Regions from separate parts of the Homo sapiens genome. Here all the other regions are linked to region 1. Evidence: promoter capture Hi-C in human tissues and cell types (Jung and others, 2019). All regions are on one chromosome and are shown on one strand. The core of a region is centred on a gene start or on the middle of the fragment in contact, and the rest is flanking DNA. Distances in the headings are between cores, read along the strand shown. Region 1 holds the start of TMEM221 (transmembrane protein 221). Region 2 holds the start of ARRDC2 (arrestin domain containing 2). Region 3 holds the start of MPV17L2 (MPV17 mitochondrial inner membrane protein like 2).

What was found. The method cuts DNA at HindIII sites, captures the fragments that hold promoters and counts their contacts. A contact is called where the count stands out against the background at its distance.
Region 2: a contact is called between the fragment with the promoter of ARRDC2 here and the fragment with the promoter of TMEM221 in region 1, in 1 of the 25 tissues and cell types used here (IMR-90 fibroblasts).
Region 3: a contact is called between the fragment with the promoter of MPV17L2 here and the fragment with the promoter of TMEM221 in region 1, in 2 of the 25 tissues and cell types used here (mesendoderm cells and thymus).

The regions. Positions count from the first base shown.
Region 1 is chr19:17,447,039-17,449,940 of GRCh38, reverse strand. TMEM221 (transmembrane protein 221) reads left to right here and starts at 1,273. Exons shown (of 3, transcript NM_001190844.2): 1 at 1,273-1,798. The coding sequence starts at 1,479. RefSeq lists a silencer at 1,140-1,259. The HindIII fragment of the contact is 11,612 bases long and covers 1-2,902 here.
Region 2 is chr19:18,006,657-18,009,865 of GRCh38, reverse strand. ARRDC2 (arrestin domain containing 2) reads right to left here and starts at 1,696. Exons shown (of 8, transcript NM_015683.2): 1 at 1,282-1,696; 2 at 1,089-1,155; 3 at 748-895; 4 at 172-274; 5 at 1-83. The coding sequence starts at 1,555. RefSeq lists an enhancer at 1,423-1,642. The HindIII fragment of the contact is 21,109 bases long and covers 511-3,209 here.
Region 3 is chr19:18,191,380-18,194,707 of GRCh38, reverse strand. It overlaps MPV17L2 (MPV17 mitochondrial inner membrane protein like 2), which reads right to left and starts at 1,490. Exons shown (of 5, transcript NM_032683.3): 1 at 1,240-1,490; 2 at 674-844. The coding sequence starts at 1,426. RefSeq lists an enhancer at 1,346-1,395 and a silencer at 1,786-1,965. The HindIII fragment of the contact is 8,354 bases long and covers 1-3,328 here.

The sequences.
Region 1 (2,902 bases), core at 24-2,523:
GAAGGAAGTAAGCAGAGGGGAAATCACAGCCAATGACAGAGTCCCTGGGTTGAGATCAAATGAAAAGTGAATTTTTAAATTTTGTTATTTCTTTTTTGAGACACAGCCTCGCTCTGTCACTCAGGCTGGAGTGCAGTGGCGTGATCTCAGTTCACTGCAGCCTCGACCTCCTGGGCTCAAGCGATCCTCCTGTCTCAGTCCCGAAAGTAGCTGGGTCCACAGGCGTGCACCACCACACCAGGCTGACTTCCTTATTTTTTGTAGAGATGGGGTCTGGCTATGTTGCCCAGGCTGGTCTCAAACTCCTGGGCTTAAGCCATCCTCCTGCCTCAGCCTCCCAAAGTGCTGGGATTACAGTTGTGAACCACCTCACCCAGCCCTTTCTCTCTCTCTCTCTTTTTTTTTTTTTTTTTTTTTGATGGAGTCTTACTCTGTCAGCCAGGCTGGAGTGTGCAGTGGTGCAATCTCGGCTCACTGCAACCTCCGCCTCCCTGATTCAAGCATTCCTCCAACCTCAGCCTCCCGAGTAGCTAGGATTACAGGCCATGCACCACTACGCCGGGCTAATTTTTTTTTTTTTTTTTTTTTTTAGTAGAGACGGGGGTTTCACCATGTTGGCCAGGCTGGTCTTGAACTCCTGACCTCAAGTGATCCGCCCACCTCGGACTCCTAAAGTGCTGAGATTACAAGCGAGAGCCACCGCGCCCGGCCTCCTTTCTCTTTATTTTTTATTTTTTAATTAATTAATTAATTAATTTTGAGACGGAGTCTCGCTCTGTCGCCCAGGCTGCAGTGCAATGGCGTAATCTCAGCTCACTGAAACCTCCGCCTCCTGGGTTCAAGCAATTCTCCTGCATCAGCCTCCCGAGTAGCTGGGATTACAGGCTCCGGCCACCACGCCCGGCTAATTTTTGTATTTTTAGTAGAGACGGGGTTTCACCATATTGGCCAGGCTGGTCTGGAACTCTTGACCTTGTGATCCGCCCGCCTCGGCCTCCCAAGGTGCTGGGATTACAGGCGAGAGCCACCGCCCCCGGCCTCCTTTTTCTTGTTTTAAACCACAATACAATCGATGCTTAGGGCGGCAGGGGGCGGGGTGGTGCCCTTTTCTGAACTTAGCGAGCTGTGGGGTTCCCGCGATCCAGTCCCTAGTGGGGCCTCCCCGCCCTGCGCCCGGTGCCAGGCCCCGCCCCGCCAGGCCCAGCGGACCAAGAGGGGGCGCCCGCGGGGCCCCGGGAGGGAGGAGAAAAGACTTTGTCCCAAGTTTTCGCGGAGATTCGGCGTCCCGGCTGCGACCAGCACCCCGGAGCCCCCGTCCGTCTGGCGACCCCCAGCCCAGTCCCCGAACTTTCAGACACTCCCTGCGGCCCCGCCCCCTCGGGGACCCCCTGAGGACCCTCGGATTCCCCCCAACTCCCCTGCCCTCTAAAACCACTTCAATTCCTCAACTCTTCCCCCGGCCCGCAGGAACCCCCGCCATGGCCCGTTCTTACGGCGGCCGGGTGCTGGCTGCAATGACCCTGCTGGGCATCGCGGCGGCCGTGCTGGCGGCGCTGGGCGCGCAGCTGCTGTTTCAGCTGCAGGCGGGCCGCGCCGAGCTGCGGGGGCTGCGCGCCGAGGGGCTGGGCCAGGAGCTGGGCGCCGGCCCCGGGCTGCCAGAGGACGCGGCCGGGACGCTGCTGCCGCTGGCCGCCGCGCTGGCCGCGCTGGTGCTCGTGCTGGGGTTCACCTGCTTGCTGCTCGCCGCGCTCTGTGGCCACCTGGGCGCCGAGCTGGCGCGGGGGCCTGGCCCCAGGAGGTAGGAGGACTGGCCTCACCGCCTCGGAGGCCCGGCTGGGGGCTGGGTGAGCCTGGTTGAGCCTCTTCCCCTCTTTTGGCCTCAGGCTGGGGGGACAGCTTCCCTCCCCACTTCCCTCTCCCCACCACTCCATGTCTCTCTGCCTCCCTCCTTTCCTCTCCTCCTCCCTCCTTCCCTCCCTCCATTCTATATTTGTTCAATTTTGCAGCAGGTGCAACCACTGCTGTGTCTCGCATTTTGCAGATGAGGAAACTGAGGCTCAAAGAGGGTCCAGGATCAGCTTGCCTGGATCTCAAACAGGGGAGGCTGAGCTCTCAGGCTGTCTGGCTTGGAAGTGGGTGGGAGGCGGGACAGTGCTGGACTTGAACTTGGTTCTGGGTAGAGCCAGCCAGAGCCTGTGTCCTGGTCTGAAATTGAGTTCCTTCCTCAGGGACCTGAACTCAGTCAGGGATGTGGTCATTGAGGGACCCCTATCAGGGGCAGTGGTTGTGGAAGGAGGAACCCTCCTTGAGCTGAGGACTCCGCTGTCCCACATGGTAGTGTTTCTCTCCAGAATGTCGGGGGAGAGGAGCCCAAATTCTAGTCCAGAATTCTGTGAAATTGAGCAGATGAGAACTCCCACCATTGAGGTAGATCCTATCCAGACCATGCACCTTCCACCCAAGGGACAATGAAATGCATGGGTCCCACGGGTCAGCAAACATCTGTTGGGTGCCTGCCTGCAGGGGAATGGATCTGGCTCAGGGCATCAGAGACAGCGGGGACCAAGTGGACCCAGACCTGCTCTCATGGGGTCACAGAAAATAAGGAAACATAACAAGGACAAGGCATGGTGGTTCACACCTGCAATCCCAGCCCTTTGGGAGGCAGAGGCAGGAGGATCATTTGAGGCCAGGAATTTTTTTTTCTTTTTTTTTTTTTGAGACAGAGTCTTGCTCTGTCACCCAGGCTGGAGTGCAGTGGCGCTATCTCGGTTCACTGCAGCCTCCACCTCTTGGGTTCAAGCGATTCTCCCACCTTAGCCTCCCGAGTAGCTGGGATTACAGGTGCCCACCACCATACCCAGCTAATTTTTGTATTTTTAGTAGAGGCGGGGTTTCACCA
Region 2 (3,209 bases), core at 447-2,946, 560 kb before region 1:
CTGTGTCTGCACCACGGCTGCCCGAGGCAGCACAGGACGTGTGGAGCCGTTGTCGATCTCGGCAAAGACAGGGATGACCTCTCCTGCAGCAAGGAGCAGTGGGGCCTCAGTTTCCCCTCCTGCAACCCCAACACCAGCCCCCGTCCCAACCCAGTCCGGTCCGCCTGCTACCTGGGGTGTAGCCCTTGCGGTCGATCTTGGCCGAAAGGGAGACTAGGCCACGGTTACAGTACCAGGATCGGGCAACCTTTTCCCGAGCCCCCGCTTGAGGTGCCTGTCGGTGTAGAGGAAAGTGACATGGATGAGTCACTTTGTGCAAACCACAGTCGCTGTGGAGCTTCCAAACCACCCCCAGCTGAGGGAGGACTTTGGGCAGGGCTTGGTTTCTTTTTAACAATCCAGGAACTATCCGTTAAATAGAGCCAGGAACACAACCCATCTTATAAAGCCAGAAATGAAATGTATAAGCCAAGTGTTTGGTGTGTAATTCACACTTGGTAAGCCCTAGCTCTGGTCTATTTCACAGAAGAGGCATCTGAGGCTCAGAGAGGGCTTCAAGACACTTGCCCAGAGTCACACGGCAAATGGGTGCAGATCCCAGTGGATTCCACACGCATTCCCACACCTGCCTCCCTCCCTGCCAGGGCCCACCTATGACCTCCATCTTATTGGTTGGTGTCGCCCAGCAGCCAGGCAGGCCCCTTCCTACAATACTCCCAACCTACCTCCCCAAGGGTGGCCACTCACCAGCAGGGCTGGCGTGTTGATGTCCACAGGCTCGATGACAGTGAACACCTTCCTTGCCCGGCGTGCTGGGACCCAGGGCCGGTGCAGGGTGGCCTTGATACAGTAGCGGACACTACCGTGTTTGCCCTCGAAGGATGTCACCAGGGTCCTAGGGTGGAGGGACGGGACTTCAGGGGACAAGATACAGAGACAAGCAGGCAGGGAGAAGGAGACACAGACACTCCGGGGGCCTCCCAGGGGGAGAGTCTTGGGGCTCAGAGGTGCCCAGATATCCAGTATTGGAGGTACCAATCTGGAAGGGGCTGCAGGCTTAGGGCAACCCTGCACCCCAGAGGACTTACGGGGGCAGCTGGAAGCTGAACAGGAACTCATGGCGCCCAGGAGGCAGCGTCGTGGTCTCCCCGGTATCTGCAGGTAGGAGAAAAAGGAGGCGACTGAGCGGTTGCGCTGGGGTCCCAGGGCTGACGGAGGTACCGCCGTCCAGGTGGTGGGAGGCACACAACTGGTGTTGGAGCAGGGGTCCTCCATCCGTACCTGGCGCCAGGAGCGTGGCGCGGTGGCTCACGACCTCCACGCGTTCACTGTAGCTCTGCGTGTAAGCCGTGCTCGAGCCCGCGCTGCGCGACTCGGTCCAGTGCACGTGGGCGCGGCCCCGCGCGCGCAGCCTCAGGGCACCCACACGCGCGGCGCTTGACAGCTCCAGCAGCACCCGGCCCGCCACGGCCTGGCCGCCGCTAAACACGGGCTCGACGCCCGCGGTCGCGCCGTCCAACTGCACCGAGAACGCTTTCACCTTGTCGAATAGCATCGCGTCCGGGGTGCGAACCCACGACAGGCGGAACCTGGCCTCGAACTCGCGAACCGGCAGCTCAAGATGCCGACGCTGCAGCCTCAGAACGCAAAATCGCCGTCAACGCGCAGGCGCGCTCACCAACCGGAGCAGAAAATCCCCGCGCCGTGCGTCGGCGCCGCTTTTATACGGCAGGGCGGGGGGGGGTGGGGTCACCGTCTCTTCCCCGCCCCGGGAAGGGACTCCACCAATAGCGCGACAAGGGGCGTGGCTCTGCCCAGGCGTGGAGCAAAATAACAAACGCCCCTGCTCACCGCCGGCTGCCCCCTTCCCTCGCGGACCCCGGGGAGAAACTGAAGCCCTTAGGCTGCCAGAGCTGGTCTCTCGCGGACCCCGGGGGTAAAGAGGAAAAAAAGAGGTGCAGAGGCAGGGCCCAGGCCTGAGGTCACCTAGCAGAGCCTTCAGCCTCTCGGCTTAATCACTCACCAGCCGCCCCTCGTTGACGTGACTCGAGGCATGTCCAGCCCGATTTGGGGCGGGGGACTCTCGCCCCAGTTGAGGGCCAGAGAGCCTATGACTGTTCCAGGCCTGTTTCCCCCGCTATGCAAAGGGAGAAGTGGAGGAGGTGGGTGGGACCGCCCTCCACACTGGTGCCTGCTGCACCCCTTTCCTGATTCAAGTCCCGCTTAGCTGGTGGCTCTGGGCAAATGACAACCTCTTGGAGCCTCAGTTTCCACCTCTGTAGAGCCGGGAGAAAGTAAAAATCAGTCCTGACCTCAGAAGGTTGTGCATGGATCATCGTGCAGCCCCAGCTGGACTCCTCCAAGAGCCTCGCTCCCGGGTCATCAACCTGCTCTTGACATACCGTCACTCGGTCGCGCCTCGGCGCATTCGCCCAGGAGCGGTACCTACGAAATGATGTTCCCTTCCCAATTTTCAGCCTCTGGCAAACCCTACCTTCCCCGCAGCCCTTGTGCCTGCTCCAGTCATCCTCAGCCCCCGTCCCGCCACAGAGCTGAATGCAGGGGACGCTCGGGCACCCCCAGGTCCACAGCTGCGGTGTGGCCACGGGACGGCGTGACCTCTCTCTGGGCTTCAGTTTCCCCAAAGAAAAGTCGCATGGAGTTTCTCCAGCGGGAGTTGCCTCTGCGTCGTCTGCGGGACGCTGGCGCCCTCTCGTGGCAGCGTAATGCGCTGCCGCTGAACCCATCCCCTGCCGTGACTGTCCGCCTCTGAGCCTGGCTCAGGAGACTTCCACCACCTCAGTGAGGTGTGTGGGTGGAGGGGGCGGTCATAAACAAACACGGTCACCCTCAGCCCGTGATGGGGATCGGAACAGGAACGACGGAGTTGGAGGCACAGTGATCAGCCTGGAAGGCTGCCTGGGAGGATGGGTCTTTGGAGTTGAAAGGAAGGTCTGGGACCTTAGGCCAGGTTTCAATGGATACTAGAGGGGAGACAGTAGGCCGTTAAGTCCGGGAGGAGAAGCGGGATTAGGTAACCCTGAAGGGACTACTGAGCCAGCGCCTCCCTCAATTCATTTCGCAGACGGACCCCAAAGGCCCAGAGATGGGTGGGGCTCTGCCCGAGGTCACACAGCACCTCCACTGGCCTCGCCCCTCCAGTGTCACTGTTTTTTCCTTAAATGTATAACAATTTAACAATTTTTAAG
Region 3 (3,328 bases), core at 241-2,740, 740 kb before region 1:
ACGATGGAGGGGGCGGGGTTGGGCCCCTGAGAGCCCACGCCGCCCACCCCGGGCAGAGGGACAGGGACTTTCAGATGGGATGGACAGAGAATTAGGGTAGCTGGTGTAGAGACAAAACAGAGCAAGTCAGTCCCAGTGAGAGAAAGAGAGGTTATAAACATATAAACACGTGCCCCAATGGAGACACCCTGAAGTTGAGGGAGTTGTGTTACTTTTCCATCACAGACCAGGAAGCCGGGCTGGGAGGTGGAGAATGAGAGACTCCTCTATTAATACCGCTGTCTTTACCGAGCCTAGGGCTGGCACGGTTGCACCCCATTAAGTCTAGCCTCAATTTCTCTTCCTTCAGGCCTCAGAGCCTTTGCATTAGCTGTTCCCTCTGCCCGCTGGTTCCCTCTTCATGTCTCAACTGAGTGTGGTCCCCTTCTTTGGGAAATGCTCTCAACCTCCCGCCCAGGGCAGCCCCAACAGATACAGTCCTCGTCCCTCCTACACTCGCCAGCGTTCACATCGGCCGAGTCCGTCCTGTCCCCGCTGTGACCTGGCTCCTAGTCCAGGGCGACCCAAACAGGGGGCAAATTGGAAATGCACCTCTGCATCCTTCTTAACACAAAGCTGGCTCCACCCCTCCCGACCTATGAGAGGCAAAGCCTAGGCTTAGGAGGCTCCTTACCCAAGAAGTACCAGACGCCCAGCAATGGAGAGGCTACCAGCTGATCCACGAGGACCTTCTTGAGGACATTTGGGAAGCCTCGGAGGCCAGACGCAGGGAATAGGCGGTCCAGCGACAAGTACCAGTAGTGCAGGAAGGGACCCATGCTGCAGCCCACCGCAAACATGCTCGCTATAAGAGTGTAAGTCAGGGGGCTGGGTCGGGCCGGCAAGTTCCTCAGTCCATTCCCTCTCTCCCTCCCTGGCTAAGGCCTGGGTAAGCCCAATGCCATCCCGGAGCCTCAGCCTCACCGGGAAAACCGGAAGAGCCCACCCGTGCATTCTTCCACTACAAGCCCCACCAGGAGGCGCGGCTCCAGAGGCTCCTGGGTAGTGGGCAGAGACCTCCGGGGGTTGGGAGGTGATGGAGACCCAGAGCTGCGGGGAGACAGACACCCGGGGAGAGGCGCGGTCAGGGCAAGGGTCCTGCGGGGGACTGAGGCCACGGGTCAGGGGTCACGGCCCGCAGTCGGGTGTCGGGATCAAAGGTCGCCCGGGGTGAAGGACTAAGCAGCGTGGCGTCCTCACCGGAGCGCCGTGGGTCGAAAACCTGGCCGGGCCGGGCGCGGATCTCCCAGGACTGGCGCACGCCATCACCGGCCGCCATGAGCGCGCCGCAGCCCAGCGTGTTAGTGACGAGCAGCGCGCGGCCCTGGAATAGAAGCTGCCCCGCGGATAACAGGCGGCGTAGCCGGCGCCAGCCACCCCGCGCCATCGCCCTCAGGAACCAAGGAACCGGCGCGCCGCTCTGCTTTCGCCGCGCCGACCAGTCGCGAGTCACTGTCGATCCCAAATTGCCCGCCCCTCCGGCTCCCCGGCCAATCGCATAAGGATCTTCAGTCCGCAGGTCCGCCCCGAGCCGCGACGCGTTCACCAATCGCAGGCAGCCTCGGGGAGCCACATTGCCCGGCCCGAAGAGTATTGACCAATAAAAGGCAGGCGTTCTATCCCAAGGTCGAGCCCCCAACGACCTCCCGAGCTTCACGGACCAATCGGAAAAAAGAATTGCGTTACGTCCCGCATGCCGATTGGTAACGTTGCACTCTTGTTTCCCCGCCCCTTTCTGTGCCAGCCTATGGGAAACCGTCGCAGCCCCGTCCTACCGACACGCCCAGGACGGCACTGGCCAGTCGCAGACCGGCGTCACGCTGGCAAATCAGTGACCGTCGTCCCGCCTCCCGCGTTAGGGTTGGTCAATCTTAGGCAGTTACAACGCCTTCTGGCCTGGTTGCCCTACGTATTTCCAGATTCTCCTGGACTTAACCAGAAGGGATGTGATCTGTGGCCAGAAACAATTATATCCTAATTATACCGTTCCCGTAGGGAACAATTATTTTTTTTCTTTTTTTGAAATGGAGTCTCGCTCTGTCACCCAGGCTGGAGTGCGGTGGCGCGATCTCGGCTCACCGCAACCTCTCCCTCCCGGGTTCAAGCGATTCTCGTGTCGCAGCCTCCCAAACAGCTGGGATTACAGGCACGGGCCACCACGCCCAACTAATTTTGTATTTTTGGTCTAGACAGGGGTTTTGCCATGTTAGCCAGGCTGGTCTCGAACTCCTGACCTCAAGAGATCCACCCGCCTTGGCCTCCCAAGGTGCTGGGATGATGATAGGCGTGAACCACCGTAACTGGCTTAAAAAATGATTTTCAATGGAAATCCCTATGCATTCTCTACTAGAGTCGCAAACTACTGCCTGTGGGCTGTTAACTGTTGAAGGTGTGCAGGTTCTTGGCATCTTGAACAAAGAATTGGACAAAGTGCACAAACAAAGCAAGGAAAGAATGAAGCTTAACAAAAGCAGAGATTTATTGAAAACGAAAGTACACTCCGCAGGGTGGGAGCCAGTGGAGCATACGGACTCAAGAGACCTGTTTAAGAATTTTCTGGGGTTTAAATGCCCTCTAGAGGTTTTCACTGGTTACTTAATGTACGTCCTATGTAAATGAAGAGGATGAAGTAAAGTTACAAAGTCATTTACTGGATGTATGCCCTCTTTAAATGGAGAAGATATTTCCTGTCATAGCTGAATTGTTTCCATTTGATTTGGCCTTATGTTCCCTGCCTCCAGACCTATTCTCCTGCCTCAGGGCCAAATCCTGTCCCTGCCTGTTTTGTGCTGCTCATGATGAGCTAAAGGTGTTTCTTACATTTTTTAAATGGTCAGTCAAGAAGGTGGGGATTGGCCAGGCGCAGTGGCTCACGCCTGTAATCCCAAACAGTTTGGGAGGCGGAGGCAGCTGGATCACCTGAGGTCAGGAATTCAAAACCAGCCTGGCCAACATGGTAAAACCCCATCTCTATTAAAAATACAGAAATTAGCCAGGGGCGTGGTGGTGGGCGCCTGTAATCCCAGCCACTCGGGAGGCTGAGGCAGGGTAATCTCTTGAACCCGAGAGGTGGAGGTTGCAGTGAACCGAGATAGCTCCAGTCTGGGCCACAGAGCGAGACTGTCTCAAAAAAAAAAAAAAAAAAAAAAAAAAAAGGCTGTGCCTAGGGCCGTGGTCACTCACGTTTGGCTCAGAATTAACCTCTTTAAATATTTTACGGAGTTTCTTTTTTTTTTTTGAGAGAGTCTCGCTCTGTGGCCCAGGCTAGAGTGCAGTGGCGCGATCTTGG